Linked DNA regions of Homo sapiens: region 1 is linked to region 2. The links are contacts of gene promoters, found by promoter capture Hi-C in blood cells and fetal thymus (Javierre and others, 2016). All regions are on one chromosome and are shown on one strand. The core of a region is centred on a gene start or on the middle of the fragment in contact, and the rest is flanking DNA. Distances in the headings are between cores, read along the strand shown.

Region 1 (6,594 bases), core at 769-3,268, about 18 Mb after region 2:
GTTTCGGAGGGTGGAGGAATGGTACCAGGAGGTTCCCGTTGTGGGGGCGGGGGCAGGAGGGACTAACCCGCTGCTAGCTAAGAACCCCAAGGAAGAGTCCCAGCCCTTCCTTTCGCCTCTGGGGGCAGTTTGGCCCCGCCCCGGCCTTTGGGACGGGTGGGGCTGTGGATGGGGATGGGAATTGGAATTGAGCAATTGGGAGGAGGCGCTGCCGCAGGCGTTTTCTGCCCCATACCGCTCCCTATATCCTCTTCCTCTCTTCCCCAGACCCCCACCTCTCCCTCCTCCTTCCCCAGTCGTTCGCCGGAAAGCATTTGTCTCCCACCTCTTCATAACAACAATTAATTTCCTCTGGGGCCTGAGGAGGGCAGAATTTCAACCTTCGGTGTGCTTGGGAGTGGCGATTGTGATTTACACGACAAAATGGTCAGGTTTAGAATAGTTGTTCGTGGTTGAAAGACTTGGATAAATGTGGATGAGATAGAAGGGGAAGGCAAGAGCTGTTAATTTTCGTGGGCAATCCTGGGGAGAGGCGGGGCTCAGTGGCTTCACTGGTGATCTTACACTCTACATCTTTTCTGGATTCCTGCCTTTTACAGCCGAGGTGCTCGGTGGAGTCATGGCAGTGCCCTTTGTGGAAGACTGGGACTTGGTGCAAACCCTGGGAGAAGGTGCCTATGGAGAGTGAGTTCTTTTAAGCTTGCCTTCGTTTTCTGAGTGCATATTCATTGTTTTGGAGTCTCACACTCTGGTGATTTAGAAAGTAGATGTTTGAGATCCAAGGGTTTTGGCAACTGAAGTTACACAGCCTTTTGCTAGGATTAAAAATTTTTTCCTTCCCTTTAAAAAAAAAAGTTTTCTTTGTAGAGAGCTGGAAGGGACACGAAGTTATTGTTTCCATGCCCACAAATTGCTTCTCAGGGTTTAAGCATTGCGGTTAATGAGCAAATGAGCAGACTCTGGAGATTGCCTGCCTGGTTTCAGATCCTTGCTCTATCACATACTGGTCATTGTTTTGTGATCTTAGGCAAGCTTCTTAATGTCATTGTGTACCTCTCCTTCACTACCTTTAGGGTGGCAATAATCGCATCTACCCCATAGGAGCTTAGGACAGTCAGTTACACAAGCACATATAGTATGGGATTAATGCTCTTAAAAGTATATGAGTAGAACATGTATATATGTGATGTGGCTTAGAATTATCTCAATCTATTTTATGAAGCGTTTATTAAATGACTTGTGTGACAGCATAATGACGTCTTTGGAGGGTTAGCTATTGTATTTCACATTTTAGAAAAGAGTAGTGTGTGTTGAGAACATAGCAGAAACCACTTCCTTGGTTTCTCCTTTGTGGAAAAAGTAATAGAGGTAAAATCGTTTTGGATGAGTCATGTTTAATCTTTGGAAGTTTTAGAAGAAATGGAATTCTGTAATGTTAAAACTCTTTTCCTTTTTAGAGTTCAACTTGCTGTGAATAGAGTAACTGAAGAAGCAGTCGCAGTGAAGATTGTAGATATGAAGCGTGCCGTAGACTGTCCAGAAAATATTAAGAAAGAGATCTGTATCAATAAAATGCTAAATCATGAAAATGTAGTAAAATTCTATGGTCACAGGAGAGAAGGCAATATCCAATATTTATTTCTGGAGTACTGTAGTGGAGGAGAGCTTTTTGACAGAATAGGTATGGAAGAAATTTAAGATAATTATTTTAAACAAGTTTTTAAATTTGTTTTTTAAATCTTGGGCATGCTATTTGGTCGTTGTCCTTTCAAAATTGCTCATGCAACTGTGAAATTGGAATACATTATCTTTAAAAAATTTTTCCACCTGGTGTTAATAACATAAAAGCATATATAGAGTCAATGAAAGAAAACTTCTTTCCCAAGTTATATAAGTGATTTTGATTTAAGATTGGTGTCTTACAGAATTTAAGAGTGACAAACAAGTTTTATGGTACATCATAAATGCAGTGTATCCTAAATGCAATGTATTGCCTACACAATTTTTTCTTTGTAGACATTCTAGTTACATGAAATCATTGTATACATTTTATACATTTACAGATCTAAAATAGCATGCTGTTTCCTCTTGGTTTACATGAAATAATTGAGAATTTTCTAGGATTGCTTTTTGTATATTAAGTAAATTCTATGTTTGCTATTAATACTTAAATATTCGATGTAGAATCAAAGGATTGATATTTCAGAACACTGAGAAGTACATAAAATCTGGATCTAAATTTATAATTTAAATTTATAATTTAAAGCTATTGTATTAAATAAGTTTATCAGTTAAAAACTGATAAAGAGGTATTAGGATCTCCAGTGTGACTCAGGAGAGAGTTGAGGGTAAAAGAAATGGAGTTAATGAGAGAGATCAAAATATAAAAAGATAACTGATAAAAGAACTTTCATAATAAAACTGTTTCACGAAGGACCTCACAGGCATTTGTGGTTTTGTACTGTGAGACTATATGAAGTTTAAATCTGAGCCAGGTGTGGTGGTACATGCCTGCAATCCTAGCTACTTAGGAGGCAGGAGGATTGCTTGAGCTCAAGAGTTCCAGGTTACAGTAAGTTATGATCTCACGCCAGGGCACTCCAGCCTGGGTGAAAGAACAAGACCGTATCTCTAAAAAAAGTTAAATTATAAAAGAAGTATAATCTGTAAAATATTTAGTGAAATTGGCTTAGATTTGCCCAGACTTCCCCTTTGGCATTATATTTCAGGAATGAGAAAAATAATTAGCATAGCATTTAGAAGAAATGGGGGGAATTTCAAGGTTACTAAATAAATCAGGGTTAGTATAAGAGGAAGCAGAGGCTTTGAAGTCATGGCTTGCATTCTTGATTTGGATATTGGTTTTCTCTTTATAATTTTTCTGTGATGACGCCTTTTGCCACCTAACACAGGTAAATGTGAGTTAAGCCCCATATGTGTTAGTGGACTCCTGAATCTTTTGTTGGCATTTGCTTCTGTTTGCCTAAGCACATTTGTAAATGTCTAAGCTTCAAATTAAGAAGCTATGTGGTTGCTACCTGATTATATTTAGTCAATAAACTTACTTTCATATTTGTTTTAGAGCCAGACATAGGCATGCCTGAACCAGATGCTCAGAGATTCTTCCATCAACTCATGGCAGGGGTGGTAGGTATAGTTGTCTATTTCCCTTTTACTTAAAATTAGAGTGAATACATTACATTACCAAATTCTAGTGTGTTTCTCTCTGCATCCCTCTTAGGTTTATCTGCATGGTATTGGAATAACTCACAGGGATATTAAACCAGAAAATCTTCTGTTGGATGAAAGGGGTAAGTTTAGCATTTTATCACTACCTAAAATAAAATAAAATAATTACCTAAATTATTTTAATTACCTAATTATTTTAATATAGCCATACAAGGCAAAATCAAGTCTTTTTGCATTACTGGAATTTCAAGACAAGATCTGAAAAATCAAGGAAATTTTGGAGACTTCGTATATTTGGAAATCACAAGTCTCATTTTGCAATACAAGTGCGGATCAGGTAGAGAAATCTGACCTAGGTGCAAGCCTAGCTCACTATATGTATAAGAATAATTTTTTTTTTTTTGATACAGGCTCACTGTGTTGTCCAGTCTGGGGTGCACTGTATTATCACAGTTCACTGCAGCCTTGACCTCCTAGGCTCAAGCAATCCTACCATCTCAGCTTCCCGAGTAGCTAGGACCAACCACAGGCAGGTGCCACCATGCCTGGCTAATTTTTGATTTTTTGAAGAGGTGGAGTCTTCCTGTGTTGCTCAGGCTAGTCTTGAACTCCTGGACTCAAGCAGTTTACCAGCCTTAGCCTCCCAGAGTGTTGGGATTATAGACGTGAGCCACCATGCCTGGCCAAGAATAGTTTAAAATAATCCTTTAATGGATTAATAAAGGGAAGTTCCTGTGGAATACCCTGGACCTTAGTCTTGTCCTGTTCACTCTTTTTTTATGTATGACGTGGATAAAAATGTAAGAAATTTAGTTATATTTTCTGAATGTCATCAAATTGAGAAGGATGGATAGCGAAAGCTTTAAGCTTACAGGGTCAGAATCAAAAAAGAAATGTCAGCTGTATGAGGCAGTAGTTTTTGTCTGGTTTAATGCTTTATTCTTAGTATTAGAATAGTGCTTAACAAATGGTCAGCTTTTTTTTTTTTTTGAAACAGAGTCTTGCTGTGTTGCCCAGGCTGGAGTGTAGTGACATGATCTCGGCTCACTGTAACCTCTACCTCTCTGGTTCAGGTGATTCTTGTGCCTTAGGCCCCTGAGTAGCTGGGATTACAAGCCTGAGTCACCACACCTGGCTCATTTTTATATTTTTAGTAGAGATGGGGTTTTGTCATATTGGCCAGGCTGGTCTCGAGCTCCTGGCCTCAAGTGATCTGCCTCCCTTGGCCTCCCAGAGTGCTGGGATTATAGGTGTGAGCCGCTGTACCCAGCCTATACATGCTTTTTTCTTATGTGCATATGGATTTTACTTTTTACCCCTTTAAACTGAGTTTATATGACATAAAAATCTTTATTTTTATTTAAAACTTTAAAAATTCAGGTACACAAAAATTCTTATGTATTATAATGAAATGTAAATATATGTATATCAACCCACCTGGTTTAAAAATACAACATTATTCGTATATAAGAATGCTCACAGTGGTGATGTTTTTAATATAGCAGGAAACTAACCCAAATGTCTGTCAACAATAAATTATGAAATGCATGGCTTTTCAAGCCATGTCACAAGCAGTGACACAAGCATGTCACAAGCAGTGACATGGATGAATTTCAGGTATATAATGATGTAGAGCAAAAAGAGACAGTTGCAAAAGAATTCATATGGTCTGATTCTGTTTATACAAAGTTCAAAAATATGTAAAACCTAGTATATTGTTCAAGTATGTAAACATGGAGAAAAAAACATGCAGAAAAGCAAGGGTATAATAAAACCAAATTCAGAATGGTCTAAGAAAGTAGGGGAGGGAATGTATTTAAGGAAGTATTTAAAGATTTCAAAGGAAATAGAGCATTGTTTTTCTAAAGTGAGTGGGTGTTTATTACATTGTTATTCTTTATATCTTGTATTAATATACAAGATATAATTCTTTGTTTCTATTTAATATTTAGGAGTCTTTTAAAAAAAGAAATAAAATGTTACCAGTATTTAATGTCCTCCTGTTTATTTCATCACAAATATATTCTTCCTTTGTTTTTCTAAGAGCTAAACACATTCCTACATTTAAATTTTATTATGTGCAGTTCTCTAACATAGCTGAGTATTATGTTGCAGACATAACAAAGTCCAAGGAATACTATAGTTATCCATTAGTATTTTAAGTGATTACTACTCATAAGTAATTTGAAACTCAATCTCAGTGGTTTGTCCAATAGTGTCATATTTAACTACTGAAAAGATAATCAACTGGGTGCAGTAGCTCATGCCTGTAATCCCAGAGGCTGAGGTGGGACGATTGAGTGATTCTAGGAGTTTGAGACCAGCCTAGACAACATAGACCCTGTCTTTATGAAAAATTAAAAAAAAAAATTAGCTAGACATGGTGGTGCACACCTGGAGTCCCAGCTACTTGGAAGGCTGAAGCAGGAGGATTGATCACTTCAGCCTAGGAGGTCAAGGCTGCAGTAAGCTGTGATCACATCACTACACTCTAGTCTGGGCAGCAGAGTGAGACACTTTCTCAAAAAAAAAAAAAAAAAAAAAAAAAAAGGGTAATCACAGTAGCTACCTCCTAAGTCAGATAGAGGTAAACATTTCATTGGTTTACATATTGTGTGAATGTACTTGATTTTTAAAGAAATCAGTCCCCTATTTTGAGACATTTAAGTTGTTTCTAACTTATAAAATAGGACAGTGATGGCTTCTATCAATTTGTGTAAAAGGCCAATATAAAAATTGCGTCATGCTATAATATTTTTTATGCTATAATATTTTTTATGCCATTAGCCTTTTTGTCCCACTTACACACTATTTCATGTTAGTATGTATAGATATACCTTGTTGATTGTTTTCAAAACCTACCTCCACATTTTCCATTGTACAAATTTGGACATTTATTTACAAATAATATTGCTATGAATATTCTTATGTTTATGAATTTGTGGGATTATTTCTATGGATATAGAAGTGGGAATTGCTAGTTCAAAGAGTGAATGTTTCACAGTTTAGTATGTTTTGCCAAATTGCCCTCTGATAATAGAGGGCCTTTTCTAACTCTTAAGACTGGGTTACATTCCTTTGCTCTAAGATCCTATAGTGCTCTATATTTTTATAACCTTCATAACAGTTTTCTATTGTCAGTCTTCACTAATTTATCTATTACCTGCATTGGCTGGCATAGTGTCTGTCACTAAGTTACAGTAGATATTCACTAAACATAAGTTAAGTCCTGCCTGCAGTTTTTGTGTGTTGAAGATGGGAAGTTAGGGTGGAAGTTGGGTCTTCTGATATTTTTTTTTTGTACAGAGTTTGTCCTCTTTTTCTCAGACTCTCTACTTTGAAGAAAAAAATTACTGTGGTTTGTTGAATTTTGGTGTGTCTTCACATATTTTCTTCTGCCAACTG
Region 2 (6,873 bases), core at 1,650-4,149:
CTATGGTCTCCCCAAAAATTTATACAAGACTATTAGGCCATAAAAAATATAACAAGATAGCACAAATTAAAATTATAGGAAGAGGCTAGGGGAAGGAGCAAGGATAGGGAAAGGGAAGATGTTGATCAAAGGGTACAAAGTTTTCATGACACTAGAAATAAGTTTTAGTGATCTATTACTGATGACCACATTTAATAATAAGGTATTATCTATTTCAAAGCCATTGAAGAACAGACTTTTAACGTTCTCACCACAAAAAAATAAGTTGATGAGGTGATGGATATGTTCATTAGCTTGACTGAATCTTTCTATAATGTATACATAGATCAAACCATCACACTCTAACCCATAAATTTACACAATTATTATTTGTCAATTAAAAATAATTTTTAAAAAAATTATAGGAAAACAGGCTTGAGACCTAAAAAAATAAAATAAAATAAATACATAAAGCTTAAAATGCATAAATTTTTAGGCCTATAAGCTTGCTATAGTGGGCCAGAAATTTGAAGCTGTCTTCTACTAGCCAAACTCAAATAACAAAACTTGAGTCATAATGTCCAAAATATTACAATATCTTACCTCTGCCAAAGAGATGAAACTATTCAGCAATGCCAACTATGTGATATTCATTTTGTAACTTATGAAAACATTCTATAAAATTATTCATCCAATATTAACTTGAATACGTGCAAAAAAGGACAGATATCCTTACATCACGTAAACCTGTTAGTATTCACCTGTGAGAACTGTTCAATTCTCTCATTCACATCAGGTAGCATCCATGTATCCTCACCCCGAAGTCGCTTAAGTTCTTTACGCCTTTCTTCTTTTTCAAAATTGGCTTTAGCCTACAACCAAAGAAAAAAAAAAGACAAACTGGCAATTGACCCAACTGGGTTTCACAAAAAAAGGAAAACAAAAACCTCTGTCATTTTTATACAAAAATATCCACTCATGAATGAATGTCTATTCCTTGCCAGGGATTTGCTTCTCCAGTGTAAAAAAATAAAAAAATAAATAAATAAACAAAACAAAGCAAAAATCTCTCCTTCTGCATTTCCAATCTCCAGTGATTTGAGTTACCAATCAGAGAGAATCCAGGGACTGAGTCCAGGCCCTCCCATCTCTCTAAGCTCCCTAGCTCAATATGACTTGGAATCCCTTTTCCCTTCACCATTCCCATGGCTACTGCCTTAAGACTTTTGCAACAGTTAGACCTCCACGCCTTCAATATGCAATGCCTGTAGCCCCAATACCCAGCCCCAAAAATGCCTCAGGAAGAATCATCTCTGTATAAAGAAAGGATCATATTGGTAATTTTTATCCATTCTTCAATGATAGTCAAACAAAGCAAGTTTTTCCTAGGAAATCGTTCCTGCCCTCTTTCTTTCCCTGTAACTCCAAAGCTCAGTTTGGTCCTTTTCAAATTCTATGCATATCTCTACTATAAGATTTATCTCAACTTACGAAACTTACTCCCTCCAAAAACTGCTGGAAATACCAAAGAGAAAAGAATGAATAATATATATATACCCACACACACACATTACATATGTTGAAATTACGAAACAATACCAACATTTCACCTACCCAAGACTAATCGCCCACTCTTCCCCTTTAAAACCTGGCTGTAGTCATTTTCTTTTTTTTTTTAATCAAATATAAAAATAATTTATTAAAGGTTTATATCAGAGAACTGCTGAAGCAACAAGAACTAGAAGAGTTAATATTCCAGAAAAGGGAAAATCATGGAGAGGTAGTCCAACATTCTGCAGCTAGCTTTTCCCTGGGTGCATATAATAATTCTTGGTGTAGGCAAGAAGATGAATACAATGGTTATATACCAAACAGAAAAATCGATATCAGAGAAAAGAGCAGGGCTTATGATGGACTCCAAAGAACAGGGTGAGAAAATTGGAGATTAAAGGAGAATGGGGCTGCTTCACCCTCAAATTATTTGCCAAATTTTGAAACTATGTCATTTTCCCTTTAGAGTCTCCTCTCCCTCTTCTCTGCTGGCTCCTTCTCATTTGCATTTAAACTTGTTTAAAACTCTTCCAACTTAAATAAAAACAAAAACCCTCACTGAATTCTCTGTTGCTCTCCAACTGCAACTTTTCTCTTTCATTGCCACACTTCTTACATATTGAATAGATTGTCAGATAATTCAGAAGCTTACTTTCTCCATTCTTTGTATGTTACCTCTATGTATCTGAAGTTTAGTGAGAAATACAATGTTTCGCGATCTTTTGTGACAGGCTAAATATACTGAGATTGGTGTTAACTTTTGTTTGGATTGGTAAGAGCTTACAGTAAGTCTGGAATTGATACCAATAGAGACAGGAGGAGGAAATGTCAAACTGAGTCTATTCAAGTGTGACTTGAATGTGTTTCCGAAAAAGGAAAATCTCATTTCAGATACAGCAGTAGCAATGACTGAGGCTGCGAGACATGCTGGCAGAGTCCTTACAAGCCGCAGGGGACCTACAAAGTGTGCAGTCCGAGTGATAGAAATGTAAAGAATGGGTAACTTAAAAGGTAAAGAAACTTGGAGAAAAAGCGACAGATCTGCCTGAAAAGAGAATTAGCAACTGGCACCTGCCAGAACATCTAAAAAATCGGTAGCTACAAAAGGGTTTACCGGCATTGCAAAGGGAGAACTCACCCAAATTAAGGTGAGATTCAGTACTGACGAGGTAAGGGAAGGGGTGAGTGGGCTAGCTTACGGGAACCCTCAACTCCCACAACAATAAATAACTACAAAAGCCCCAAAACAGAGGTACCTGGCGCAACACCTCGGCCCTGGCATTCCGGGTCTGTTCTTTCCGCTCTTCGATACTCTTCGCACTTTCAAATCTACCACTAGCAGCCGCCATACTTGTTGCCATCGTAAAGCTAAGAAGCCGCAAGAAAATTCTAGTTTACGACGGTCGTAATTTAACAAACAAACCGGGACTTCCGGACCCGAGGAAGGAGGAGCACGGCTCCACCAACAGGGCATGCGCACATCTGAGGTCGCTTAGGGCTCGGATTACCGCAGCCCAGATTTTAAAGACCCGAAGGGTGTTGGAGGGTTTAATTCTTTCAGGTGTTGGGTGCGATTGTGAGCAGGATTAATACCCGTATATATTTATTATGCACTTTTTACTATATTAACAGCTTTCTCACCAATTTCGTCTTAAAATCACCGGAGTAAGTTACAAGCTCTTGGAAGTTAAGTTGGTACCTCTCAAAAGTTTTCTGCGGAAGTACCCTTTGTCGCCAGAGCATCATTTCCCTGTGCTGGAGGAATGGGATAAAGGGAGGCTGCCAGAAAGGTAGTGGCAGCTGGCAGGAAGGACAGAATTGCCTTGAAGATTCAGTGTTTTGTTTTGGTGGATTTTACTTAATATATGAAACACTCATGTGAATTTTGCATTGCACTTCACAATTTACCCGTGCTTAACTTGTTAGAAGTTTACATTATATTTTTTCCTCTGACCCCATATTATTTACTCATACTTATCCATCCAAGCATTTTTCATTACAATGGACAGTTACTTATTTATTTCTGCGGAGATTTCTTTGTTTTGTTTTACGCATGTATCGCCCAAACATAAAACTTTTAAGTTCAGAAGAATAAGACATTCTAAGGTGATGAAGTGCTTTGAGAACATAAGACACTAAGCTTACATTTACAAGAAGAAGAAGGCTGGGGAATTAATTATAAACGATACCTTAAAGACGCTAAAAATAAGTAACATAAGCCAGGTTGAGGTAAATACTCTTTCTCTTCAGGTTTCATAAAATTTAATGTGTGTTTGCAAGAAGCTTTCCAAGAGTTTTTACATTCACTACCATTCTATGAGTCTGAATCTTGAACACACAATGCCTACTTGTTTGATATGCAATAGAAAGTATTCATTTTATTTTAAAATGTAATTTACTAATCGACCTTGTAATATTTAATCAACTGACTACATTGACTGATATTTGTCATAACTAGCATCAACGTCTTTTCAGATTCTCTTGGAATTCAGAAAAACATCCATTTCACTGTTTTGCATCAATTCAATAAAAATAAACTGTGATTATATTAGAAACGTGTGTGTTTTAATCAGTTCAGGCTGCTATAACAAAATATTATAGAATGGATGGCTTATAAATAACAAACAAGTATGTCTTACAGTTCTGGAGGCTGGATAAAATCAAGGTGTTGGGCTATTTGCTGTCTAGTGAAGGTGTGTCCTGGTTCCTAGAGGGCAGTATTTTTGCTGTGTCTCATATGGCGGAAAGGGAGAGGGATCTCTCTAGAACTTCTTTTATAGGAATTCATGAGGGTGCTGCTCTCATGACCTAATCACCTCCCAGAGTCCCTACCTCCATATACCAGCACATTGGGGATTAGATTTCAACATAAGAATTTTGGGGAAACAAACATTCGGTCTAGAGCAATGTGCAAAGTTATATGAAGAAAACTTTAAAATCTTGCATAAGCTCCCCAAAAAGACTAGAACGAATGGAGAGGTATACTATGTGCTTAAAGAAGAAAACATCATAAAAAATCATTTCTCAATTAATTTGTAAATACCATGCAATACAAATAAAACTGCCCAAAAAAAAGTTGGGGTTAGAGAGGGGAACTAGATATGTTAAAATAGAAAAAAGAAAAGAAAAGAAAAGAAAGAAAAAGCAGGTTATTTTGGCTAGGTTTGCATTTGGCCACACCTAATGCGAATCCAGTCACATGGCTTAATCAAATAAAGGATAACGTAACAAGGAGCCTAAAAGTAACTGGTCCAGGCTTGGTGCAATTGCTGAAGGAGCCAAATAGTTTATCCTTTTTCGCTTTGTTGCAGTCTGTGACTTTAGTATTTGTAGTCACAAGCAGGGTATCATATTCTTTCACATCTGTTCACGGCATCTGATAAACAAGAATAAAGAGAAAGGACAAAGGGTAAACGTTGTTAGCTAAGCTGGCCTCATTTTTTATTAGAAAAATGATGGCTTTTCCTAAAGCCTAGTTCAGTTTCTTTCATTTAAATCCTATGATCCAGAAATAGGTCAGATGATCACAATTAACTACAAAAGTTTCATGAAGATTGCAGGATAGTTGTGTTATAGAATGTCACTCAACTTGGGTTTGTCGGAGGTTCTTTTGTGATTAAATTCAAATTTGGCCTCTTAAGCAGGACGATCACAGAAGTGAGGCGGTCTTACTGCATCCTGTTGGGTAGCGCATGATTTCCATTTGTTCCATTACAGGTGATGTTAATTCTGATCATTTAAATAAACTGGCATCTGCAGAGCTTCTCTGCTGTAAAGTACCTCTTTTCCTTCTATAATAAGTATTTTGTGAAGTGGTTCTTTGAAACTATGTAGATCATGTACCAAATTTTCAAGTTATTTATTTTTATATAATACAGATTCATAATTTCTCAGTGGATTCCTGTTTTTGTTCAGTGGGATAAAAATTCGTTATCAGTATTTATTTTGATCCTCAAATTGGTCCAGGTTAGGCCAGTGAGAGCCCTTTCAAGCTGGTTCCTGTGTCCTTTAGACATGTACCCACATTCTTTATATATATATATATATATATATATATATATATATATATATATATATATATATATATACTTTAAGTTCTGGGGTACATGTACAGAATGTGCAGGTTTGTTACATAGGTATACACGTGGTATGGAGGTATGCTGCACCCATCAACCCGTCATCTACATTAGGTATTTCTCCTAATGCTATCCCTCCCCCAGCCCCTCACCCCCCAACAGGCCCTGGTGTGTGATGTTCCCTCTCTGTGTCCATGTGTTCTCATTGTTCAACTCCCACTTATGAGTACATGCGGTGTTTGGTTTTCTGTTCTTGTGTTAGTTTGCTGAGAATGATGGTTTCCAGCTTCATCCATGTCCCTGCAAAGGACATAAACTCATCCTTTTTATGGCTGCATAGTATTCCATGGTGTATATGTAACACATTTTCTTAAACCAGTCTATCATTGATGGGCATTCGGGTTGGTTCCAAGTCTTTGCTATTGTGAACAGTGCAGAGATAAACGTACGTGTGCATGTCTTTATAGTAGAATGATTTATAATCCTTTGGGTATATACCCAGTAATGGGATTGCTGGGACAAATGTTATTTCTGGTTCTAGATCCTTGAGGAATCACCACACTGTCTTCCACAATGGTTGAACTAGTTTACACTCCCACCAACAGTGTAAAAGCATTCCTATTTCTCTACATCCTCTCCAGCATCTGTTGTCTCCTGGCTTTTTAATGATCGCCATTCTAATTGGCATGAGATGGTATCTCATTGTGGTTTGATTGGCATTTCTCTAATGACCAGTGAAGATGAGCTTTTTTTCATATGTTTATTGGCTGCATAAATGTCTTCTTTTGAAAAGTGTCTGTTCATACCCTTAGCCCACTTTCTGATGGGGTTGTTTTTTTCTTGTAAATTTGTTGAAGTTCTTTGTAGATTCTGGATATTAGCCCTTTGTCAGATGAACAGATTGCAAAAATTTTCTCCCATTCTGTAGGTTGCCTGTTCACTGATGATAGTTTCTTTTGCTGTGCATAAGCTCTTTAGTTTAATTAGATCCCATTTGCCAATTTCGGCTTTTGTTGCCATTGCTTTTGGTGTTTTAGTCATGAAGTGTTTGCCCAAGCCTATGTCCTGAATGGTATTGCCTAGGTTTTCTTCTAGGGTTTTTATGGTTTTAGGTCTTACATTTAAGTCTTTAATCCATCTTGAGTTAATTTTTGTATAAGGTGTAAGGAAGGGGTCCAGTTTCAGTGTTCTGCATATGCCTAGCCAGTTTTCCCAACACCATTTATTAAATAGGGAATCCTTTCTCCATTTCTTGATTTTGTCAGGT

What was found. Contacts are between HindIII fragments. The CHiCAGO score rates a contact against its expected background, and 5 or more counts as called.
Region 1: a fragment that was not itself captured here is called in contact with the fragment with the promoter of CWF19L2 in region 2 in 1 of 17 cell types (non-activated CD4 T cells); the score reaches 5.2 in non-activated CD4 T cells.

The regions. Positions count from the first base shown.
Region 1 is chr11:125,626,150-125,632,743 of GRCh38, forward strand. It overlaps CHEK1 (checkpoint kinase 1), which reads left to right. Exons shown (of 13, transcript NM_001114122.3): 2 at 600-684; 3 at 1,458-1,681; 4 at 3,083-3,147; 5 at 3,242-3,311. The coding sequence starts at 620. Among named protein-coding and RNA genes, the nearest start is that of CHEK1, 4.3 kb to the left of the region's middle. RefSeq lists enhancers at 506-1,049, 610-659. The HindIII fragment of the contact is 1,976 bases long and covers 1,031-3,006 here.
Region 2 is chr11:107,454,926-107,461,798 of GRCh38, forward strand. It overlaps CWF19L2 (CWF19 like cell cycle control factor 2), which reads right to left and starts at 2,900. Exons shown (of 18, transcript NM_152434.3): 1 at 2,787-2,900; 2 at 741-851. The coding sequence starts at 2,891. RefSeq lists an enhancer at 2,679-3,184. The HindIII fragment of the contact is 1,493 bases long and covers 2,176-3,668 here.